Linked DNA regions of Homo sapiens: region 2 is linked to region 1. The links are contacts of gene promoters, found by promoter capture Hi-C in human tissues and cell types (Jung and others, 2019). All regions are on one chromosome and are shown on one strand. Each heading gives the region's core, a stretch centred on a gene start or on the middle of the fragment in contact. The rest is flanking DNA. Distances are from core to core; before and after follow the strand shown. Region 1 holds the start of BFSP2 (beaded filament structural protein 2). Region 2 has its middle 150 kb from the start of TMEM108.

Region 1 (5,092 bases), core at 963-3,462:
CCACTTTATATCCATCTGTATTTTTTAATCTGATTTAACAGTAAGTTGAGTTTTATGTATGTGATGAGCTAATAGGATTAGCAGTTTATCATTTGATAAAATAAATCTTTTTGAACATGTTTGCAGTTTCTCCAAAACAGACTCATCTTTCATCAGGTCTTTGGAGACAGTGGTGTCAAAGTACATCCCCCCCTCTTTCTCCCTGTCTCCAGGGCTGAGTGGATTTATATAGTAAATATCTTTGGTCCGGAGAAGTCTGAAGTTAACCTGGCCATTGAGTGTTACCATTCTGTAGAGAATAACAATGCCTAAACATGACACATTTGTGCACAACTTAATCAGTAGCCTGAACTTTTCATTCAGCCTTGGACAATACATCTTGGAATTCACAATAATGCAGATCCTCAGAACCAAGTCAGTGTCATCCGTATAGGAGGCTGTTACTGTAACACAGGCTCGCATGCCCCTTCTGGGTGCATCAGGGGTGGTGTTCACAGCATTAATGCTACATCTGAATAAACAAGGACACTACTGGCCTTTACTTAATCCAATTGGTTCTTTCATCTGTTCATCAAATAGCCAACACTGATATTTATAAAATACCTCCCAGGCCATCTCAGAGAGACAAAGTGGAAGACAATAAAGAAAGGAAGGGTTGGAGTGTCCTGGTCAGTAGGAAGGAAGTGCACACAGGGTCCTCTAGTAGGCGACCAGGTTTTTTACCTCTACCTGCGTGACCTCAGGTAGGTACTCTGCTCTCTGGGTGGTGGGCAACAGGGAGGCTCCTAAGTAAGTCAGTGGCCCAGAGTTTGGAAGAGGTTGTCTGCCCCCAGCTCTGCTACTTTCTGGACATAGAACCTTGGGCAAGTCATTGCAGCTCTCGGGGTCCTCCTCACATAAGAGGACAGTGGCCAACTGTAGGACATGTCATTTTAGAGCTGTGAGGTACACAGCCCATATGGCAGTACCTGTCAACCCTGGACCTCCTTCCTCCTGAGGTTGAGTTGAGAATTCCACGAAATAAACCATAGGATTCATGCACACACCAGGCTGGATCTGCTACTCACTAGAGATTGACTCCCTTCTCCTTCTCTCACCTGAGGTACATTCCTACATTACAGCATCTGGAAAAGTATCCAGCTCTGGGGTTTGGTGACCTGGTTTCTCCAGGGTAAAACTTATGTACAGAGGTTTTTAGGTCCATGTTGTCATCCTGTAACTGGGGGAACCTTTCTGATCCTAGAGAAGTGATTGAGGTGTGACCCTTGGTGGCTTAGTGGATGCCAAGGTCAATAATTAAAACCCAGGGGTGTCATCATATCCTAACTTGGGGCACCCTTGGAGAGGCTTACCAGAAAACACCCTCGTTGTTGTTTTTATTTCTCAGTTTTCCAACAGATGGAGAAGCAGAGGTGTAGGGAATGGCCGGAACATGTGTGGGATCTGAATTTGCCCAAGGTCCTTATCTGGTGCATCAGAGAGTTAAAGGCCCAAGCCAATGTTCAGACAGTGAGGTCCAGAGGGAGGAAGCATCCTGGCCAACAGCAAGCAGCTGATGAACAGCAGAGCATTAGAGGACAGAGATGAGGAGGAAAGGAGAGAGGTGAGGGAAGGACCTGAAGCTGCTGCCAGGACTGAGAGAGGAAACCATAGGCAAGTCTTTTCTCTTGGGTCCCTGGAGCTGCCTCCTGCCATTTTTCATCCTCTATTGCCTGTGTGGACATGTGTTCACATTCACATGTGCCAGCACACATAGGGATGTAGAAAGCCCTGAAATAGCTAGATTGAGTCCTAGCTTGTAATCTGAGGTCTGGGGCAAGTGATCAGTACACTTGTCATCTGAGGTCCTTGAGCCTCAGTTTACTCATCTGTAAAATGGGGTTGCTTGATGCCTGCCTTGCCCACTTAGGTAGTAAAATGCACAAACCCAAATGGTCTACCTCCACAGCCTGCACTGATCCAGCCTCCCCCACCACCAGCAGAATAATCTGGGAGGTTGGGCACATGACCCTGCATCAAAGAATGCATGAGTGCCTCTCTGCACACAGCCCTGGGCAGTGCCCATTTCTCTTTCAGCTCAGTGAATGATGGAAACTCATGGAAGACAGCAGACAAAGCAGCCCCAGGGATAGGGGAGATTCCAGAGAGGCCCGTGACCAGGCCACAGGGATGCTGGGGCTGTAAACCAAAAGCCACTGGACTCTGTAAACCCACTGGGCACCACAGAGGCAGAAGGGGTGATGAGTGAGAGGCGAGTGGTAGTGGACTTGCCCACCAGTGCCAGCTCCAGCATGCCCCTCCAGAGGCGCAGGGCGTCCTTCAGGGGGCCACGGTCATCATCCTCCCTGGAGAGCCCCCCAGCCTCCAGGACCAATGCCATGAGTGGCCTTGTCCGAGCACCCGGGGTCTATGTAGGAACAGCACCCAGTGGGTGCATAGGTGGCTTGGGTGCCCGTGTGACCCGCCGGGCCCTCGGCATCAGCAGTGTCTTCCTTCAGGGCCTGCGGAGCTCAGGCCTGGCCACCGTGCCGGCTCCAGGTTTGGAGAGGGACCATGGTGCTGTTGAGGACCTAGGGGGCTGCCTGGTGGAATATATGGCCAAAGTGCACGCCCTTGAGCAAGTCAGTCAGGAGCTGGAAACACAACTGCGGATGCACCTGGAGAGCAAAGCCACACGCTCGGGAAACTGGGGTGCCCTACGGGCTTCCTGGGCCAGCAGCTGCCAGCAGGTAAGTGTCCAGGCTGTGCCAAGGGCTTTGCAGAGGGCTGGGAGGGGCTGCTGAAGGCAGCGGGTAGGGTTGTGAGTAGGCTGAGGCCAGAGAAACTGACCATAATCCCCTACACTTTCACACTTAAAATGGTAATGATAACAACAATGCTACCTTTTACCGAGGTTTACTAGGAGCCCACGCTAGCCCCCATACGTGCACTACCCACTGTCTTCTTTAAACTTCAAAGAAATGCTATGCAGTGGATCATTCACTGATTGCATTTTTCAGATGAGAAACTGAGGCATGTAATTTGCCCAAGACTTCAAAGCTAGTAGAGGGATGGAGATGAGATTTGAACCTGAATTTTTGTGCCTCCAAAGTTGCATTTGCCCCATTACCCTGGGGCTGCCTCAGTCACCTTTACTGTTGAGAAGGGATTTTTACAGCTATTATCCAATCAAATACCATTGGATGGATGAGGTGTTAAGAACAATGAATAAATGGAGGTGTGTTCCTGTATCCACCTACAACCACGCTGTTCAATAGAAATATGAACTACATTGGTAATTGACAAGTTTCTATTACCCACAGTAAAACACGTAAAAAGAAGCAGGTGAAGTTAATATTATAGCTTATTTAACTCTATATGTCCAGAATGTTATTTCAACATGTAATCAATACAAAATATATTAATGAGGTAATTTACATTCAAGTAGAGCTTTCTGCGTGATGGAAATATTAATATCTTATATCTGCACTGTCCAATCTGGCAGCCACTAGCCATATATGGCTATCAAGCACTTGAAATGTGGCTAATGAGACTGAGGAATTGCATTTTTATTTTATCTAATTTTCATTAATTTAAATGTAAACAGCCACAGGTAGCTAATGGCTATCTTATTGGACAGGGAAGGATGCAGAGGTTTCATCTTTCTCCCTTGCTTGGTCAGCCCTGCTTTTCCCACTCTCCAGGGTGATTTCTGCGGAGTCTGGAGCACATCCATCATGTCTGGCCTGCAGCCTGTAGTTCTAATGCTGGGACTCCAGCCAGCATTACACCTCTCAGCTGGTCTCTCTGTGGATAGCTGGCTTCACCTCTCCTCCTCCTCTTTCTCTCCAGATGCTGGCCTTGGGATCCCTCTGAGCAAAATCAGTCTCTAACCCACCAGGGACTGCCAACTCAGACCCTTGGCCCCCTGGAGTCCAGTATGCAGCCTCCCAAGAGGAGGTCACAAAATTTTATTTGTGTATAGCTGGGGGAAGCTAAGCAGTTGCACACAGGGACTCCCCATTTGCCCCTCCTGCCTCCCACTTCATCCCAGGATGCTTCTCCTGCACTGCTGTCAGTGCCCACTGACAGCACAGAGTGCATGATGAACAGCACCATCCTCTCAGGCTCTCCCCCTGGTGCTGCTGTTCTGCTTGCATCCATCTGGGCTGCAAGGGAGAGCCATCTTAGAACAGTCCAGGGCCTTAACGCCTGTCAAATCTAAGAGGCAGCCATTCCTCCAGGATTCTTCACAACTGTCCTTATTCCAAATATTGTGCCATAACAACCACCAGAACATCCCTAGATACTCCAATATGTCAGCATCTGCTGGACAATCGCTTGCAATCAGATGCCACACAGACTTGTCAGGAGAAATCAGGTATCCCAATGGCTAGGTTAAAAAGTAGGGCCACAAAACTTAGTTTATACTCAATAGATACTGACTTGTTCTGGCTCCAGATAGCTACAAGAGCCTTTGCAACTTACTAACTTCTCTGGGCCTCAGTTTCATTATCTACAAAATGGGTATAACAATGCTTACATATTCCAGCAAATCTGTAGACAAATAAGAGCCTGGCTCCTGCTTACAGGTAGAGTACAGACTAGGAAGCTCTAAAATCCTGTGAGAGCACCACAGCCACACACCAAGACATGCGACCTCTGTAGTTGAGGGTCAGGATCCCACATGGGCTCACTTTCCTCTTAAGTGACTATAAATGAGGGCCTGGGTATGAATAAAGTTCTCTTTTTCTTCTTTTTTAAAAAATCATGGACTTGAAGATAGAGTAAGACCAATTGATAAAATGGAGTTATTATTTCTTTTTTTTTTTTTTTGAGATGGAGTCTCATTCTGTCACCCAGGCTGGAGTGCAGTGGTGCGATCTCAACTCACTGTAACCTCCACCTCCCGGGTTCAAGCAATTCTCCTGCCTCAGCGTCCTGAGTAGCTGGGATTACAGGTGCACGCCACCACGCCCAGCTAATTTTTTTGCATTTTTAATGGAGATGGGGTTTCACCATGTTGGCCAGGCTGGTCTTGATCTCCTGACCTCAGGTGATCCACCCGCCTCTGCCTCCCAGAGTGCTAGGATTACAGGAGTGAGTCACCATG
Region 2 (5,092 bases), core at 1,532-4,031, 510 kb before region 1:
AAAGATCTCTACAATGAAAACCATAAAACATTGATGAAAGGAATTAAAGAGGACATAGAAAAAATAAAAAGATATTCCCTGTTCATGAACTGGAAGAATCAATATTGTTAAAATGTACATACTACCCAAAGCAATCTACAGATTCAAGGAAATCCCTATCAAAATACCCATGATATTCTTCACAGAAATAGAAAAAATAATCCTAAAATTTCTATGGAACCACAGAATACCCAGAATAGCCAAACCTATCCTAAGCAAAAAGAACAAAGTTGAAGGAATCACCTTACCTGACTTCTATTATACCCAGAGCTAGAGTAACCAAAACAGCATGGTGCTAGCATGAAAACAGACATAGAGACCAATGGAACAAAATAGAGAACCCAGGAATAGATCCATGCATTTACAATCAACTCATTTTTTATAAAGGTGCCAAGAACATACATTGGGAAAAGGACAGTCTTTTCAATAAATGGTGCTGGGAAAACTGAGTATCTGTATGCAGAAGAATGAAACTAGACCCCATCTCCCACCATTTACAGAAATCAAATACAGATGGATTAGAGACTTAAATCTAAGACCTTAAACTATGAAACTACTACAAGAGAACATTGGAGAAACTCTCTGGAACATTGGACTTGGCAAAAATTTCTTGAGTAATGACCCACAAGCACAGGCAACCAAAGCAAAAATGGACAAATGGGATCACATCAAGTTAAAAAGCTTCTGCACAGCAAAGGAAACAAAGTGAAGAGAGAACCCACAGAATGAGAGAAAATATTTATAACCTACCCGTCTGATAGGGGATTAATAATCAGAATATATAAGCAGCTCAAACAAGAGGAAAAAACAAATAATCCAGTCCAAAAAATGGGCAAAAGACACTTTGGGAAAATGAGGCGGGTGGATCACGAGGTCGGGAGATTGAGACCATCCTGGCTAACATGATGAAACCCCGTCTCTACTAAAAATACAAAAAATTAGCTGGGCGTGGTGGTGGGCACCTGTAGTCCCAGCTACTCGGGAGGCTGAGGCAGGAGAATGGCGTGAACCCGGGAGGCAGAGCTTGCAGTGAGCCGAGATCGCACCACTGCACTCCAGCCTGGGCAAAAAAAGGCAAAAGATTTGAACAGACGTTTCTCAAAAGAAGACATACAAATGGCCAATAAGGATATGAAAAAGTTATCAACATCACTAATCATCAGAGAAATGCAAACCAAAGCCACTATGAGATATCATCTCACCATAGTTAAAATGGCTTGTATCCAAAAGGCAGGCAATAATGAATGCTGGCAAGGATGTGGGGAAAGGGGAACCCTCATACACTGTTGGTTGGAATGTAAGCCACTGTGGAGAACCGTTTGGATGTTCTCTAAAAAACTAAAAATAGAACTACCATGTGATCCAGCAATCCCATTGCTAGGTATAAACCCCCCGAAATAAAATCAGTATATTGAAGAGATATCTACACTCCCACGTTTATTGCAGCACTATTCACAATAGCCAAGATTTGGAATCAATCTAAGTGTCCATCAACAGAAGAATGGATAAAGAAAATGTGGTGTGTGTGTGTGTGTGGGTGTGTGTTATGTATATATATATATATGAAATATTATTCGGCCATAGAAAGAGTGAAAGCTTGTCATTTACAACAACATTCATGGAACTGGAGGACATTATGTTAAGTGAAATAAGCCAGGCACCAAAAGACATATATCACATATTCTCACTCATATGTGGGAACTAAAAAATACATTGAACTCATAGAGAGTAGAATAATGGTTACCAGAGGTTAGGAAGGGCAGTGGGAAGAGGGGGATAATGAGGGCATGGTTAATGGGCACAAAAATACAGTTATAGAAGGAATAAGATCTAGTGTTTGATAGTATAATGGGGTAACTATAGTTAAAAACAATTTATTGTATATTTCAAAATAACTAAATGAGTGAAATTGGAATGTTTCTATCACACAGAAATGATACATTCTTGAGGTGGTGGATACCCCAATTACCTTGATTTGACCATTATGCATTGTATGTTTGTATCAAAATATCACATGTACCCCATAAATATGTACAACTAATAGATATCCATAATAATAATAATTTTTTAAAAAAAGGAACTTAAAGCACTCATTAGGGTGTTTGAGATCAGGAGACTTTTCTTACCAAAACTATAACAAAAGAGCCTTTTATCTAGAGTACACAAATAAACTAAAATGTAATGAGACATTTATTTGCTTGTTTGTATAAATACACCAAAATATACGCATTGGAATAGTCAAAGCGGAAGGCAATTTACTTAAGCCAGTGATGCTGTCGGTTGGTTTTCAAAAATGCCTGTGAAACTTCTCTTTCGGAATCACCCATGAAGCTGGATTATGAGCTCCCATGAAACCAGACTCATCACTCAAACTAAGACTTGGTTTGTGACCCCAGACAGCGTTTCCCAGCATGATCACCCAACCTACTCAGCAGACTGCTCCAAATGGCTTAGAACTGTTTTCAAAACTCACATCCTCCCTGTGAGGATACATGCTGTCAGAATTATCTTTCTAAAACACATCTCAGATCATGTGCTTCACTAGCTCTCAGTTGCATAGATAATTAAGCCTCAACTTCTCAGCCTGATTTTCAAAACTTTATTATACAACCCCCACTCAGCCTTCCAGTTCTGTCATCGACCAGCAGTCTCCTATGAACACACGATGCCCTCTCTAGTTACCAATGAAAGGTACCATTTACTGAGCTTTTATTATGTGCCCCACACTGCACTAAAAGCTTTAAACAATATCTCATTTTATCCTTATAGGATTTTGTAGGATAAATATTATCTCTATAGTACAAATAATAAAACAATGATTGCTAGCTGTTTTTATAGTGCTTACAATGTGCTAAGGTATTGTTCTATAGAAATATGTGTGCCACATATGTAATTTTACGTTTTTCATAGCCACATTAAAAAGTAAAAAGAAACAAGTGAAGCTGATTTTAATAAAATATTTTGTCAAGGAGCATGTAATTAACATAAAAAATCATTAATGAGATATTTCACATTTTCTTCCCTTTTTTTTGGCACTAAGTCATTAAAATTGGTGTGTATTTTACACCTATAACATATCTCAATTTGGATGCTAAACTTTCACTGGAAATATTTGAATTCCAATGAAATCAACACAATAAATACTGTGTTTATATTTTTAAAAATGCACGGTAAAAAAAAAAGTAGATTACACACCCAAGTTGTTACAAACATATTGGGAAGAATCAAGTAACAAAAAGTCATTTCCTTTTCTATTCTCATCCAAATTGTTAAAAATTCCTTGGATTTAACATTTTAGATTTCACTTTCAATCAATTAAAAGAGTTAAAATTTTAGTTTCTAATGTTGCACTAGCCACATTTCAAGCCTCAGTAGCCACATGTGGCTGTGGCTGCCATGCTGGACAGCACAGCTCTAAGCACTTTACTACTATGAGGTAGGTGCTGTTATTATCTTCACTTTATTCTCAGCAAACTAACAAAAGAACAGAAAACCAAGCACCACATGTTCTCACCGCATTGTTCAAGTGGGAGTTGAACAATGAGAACATATGGACACAGGAATGGGAACATCACACATCGGGGCTTGTCGGCAGGGGTGGGGGGCTAGGCGAGGGACACCGTTAGGCGAAATACCTAATGTAGATGATGGGTTGATGGGTGCAGCAAACCACCATGGCACATATACATCTATGTAACAAACCTACACGTTCTGCACATGTATCCCAGAACTTAAAATATAATTTAAAAAAAAGGAAAGAAAAGAAAAGAAAAAATAAAATGGAGGCACAGAAAGTCGTAACTTGCATTAGTGCACTCAGCTGACGGACTGAATGGTTTCATTTGTCAGAATGCTTTCATTTGCTCAGAATGGTTAATTTGTCCAAGGTGACTTTGCTAATAAGGGTTAGAGCCAGGAGTTGAACTCAGGATTAAGTTCGTAGCCTAAGTTTTTGCCATGGTGCTCATTGCTCTACACATTTAATTGCTCGCTATTATCCTAAAATCCTTAATTGATGCTGGTCTTTTTTGTCAGACTGTTACCTCTGTCTGTATTGCCTTGCAAGTTCCATTTTAAGTATCATTCATTCACCCATTTATTCACTCAGTAAGTTAATTGCTTTTTCCAGCAAATACTGTTAGCCATTTTTCAAATATCCGCCACATAGACAATAGCCGTGAACAAAACAAGGCAGACCCGGCCTCTGCCCACACAGAACTTTTAGTTTAACAGCACTTCTCAAACTTAAATCTCCAGACCCTATAACACTCTAAACATTGTTGAGGACCCCCAAGAGCTTCTGGCTATGTAGGTTATAGCTATTAATATTTATTGTAATAGAAATTAAAACTAGGACATTTTAAAAACATTTATTTATCCATTCATTTAAAGATAACATAATATGGCCGGGTGTGGTGGTTCACACCCATAATCCCAGCACTTTGGGAGGCTGAGGCAGGCGGATCACTTGAGGCCAGGAGTTTGAAACCAGCCTGACCAACATGGTGAAACCCCATCTTTACTAAAAAACACAAAAATTAGCCAGGCGTGGTGGCACGCACCTGTAATCCCAGCTACTCGGGAGGCTGAGGCAGGAGAACCACTTGAATTCGGTAGGCAGAGGTTGCAGTGAGCTGAGATAGTGCCACTGCACTCCAGCCTGGGTGACAGAGTGAGACTCTGTCTCAAAAAAAATAAATAAATTTAAAAAAGGAACATAGCATAATAAACCCATTATATGTAAACACAAAGAGTGTATGATTATGAAAATATAACTATATTTTCCAAGACAAAAATTAATTAGGAGAGTGGCATTGTTTTCCAACTTTGCTAATCTCTTTAATGTGTGACTTAATAAAAGACAGCTGGATTCTCATCTCTGCTTCTGTCTTTAATCTGTTGCAATATGTTGATTTGGTTGAAATGTATAAGGAAAATCTGGCCTCAACCAGATATGTAATTGGAAGAGAGAGCAGTGGTCTTAACCCATTTATGCTGGAGGTTGCAAATTTTTGAATTGCAGACATGTATGAAAAATCAGACCTTGGTGATG

The links. The method cuts DNA at HindIII sites, captures the fragments that hold promoters and counts their contacts. A contact is called where the count stands out against the background at its distance.
Region 2: a contact is called between a fragment that was not itself captured here and the fragment with the promoter of BFSP2 in region 1, in 1 of the 25 tissues and cell types used here (aorta).

What each region holds. Positions count from the first base shown.
Region 1 is chr3:133,397,844-133,402,935 of GRCh38, forward strand. BFSP2 (beaded filament structural protein 2) reads left to right here and starts at 2,213. Exons shown (of 7, transcript NM_003571.4): 1 at 2,213-2,729. The coding sequence starts at 2,241. The HindIII fragment of the contact is 25,133 bases long and covers 1-5,092 here.
Region 2 is chr3:132,884,863-132,889,954 of GRCh38, forward strand. No RefSeq gene overlaps it. Among named protein-coding and RNA genes, the nearest start is that of TMEM108, 150 kb to the right of the region's middle. The HindIII fragment of the contact is 3,209 bases long and covers 1,178-4,386 here.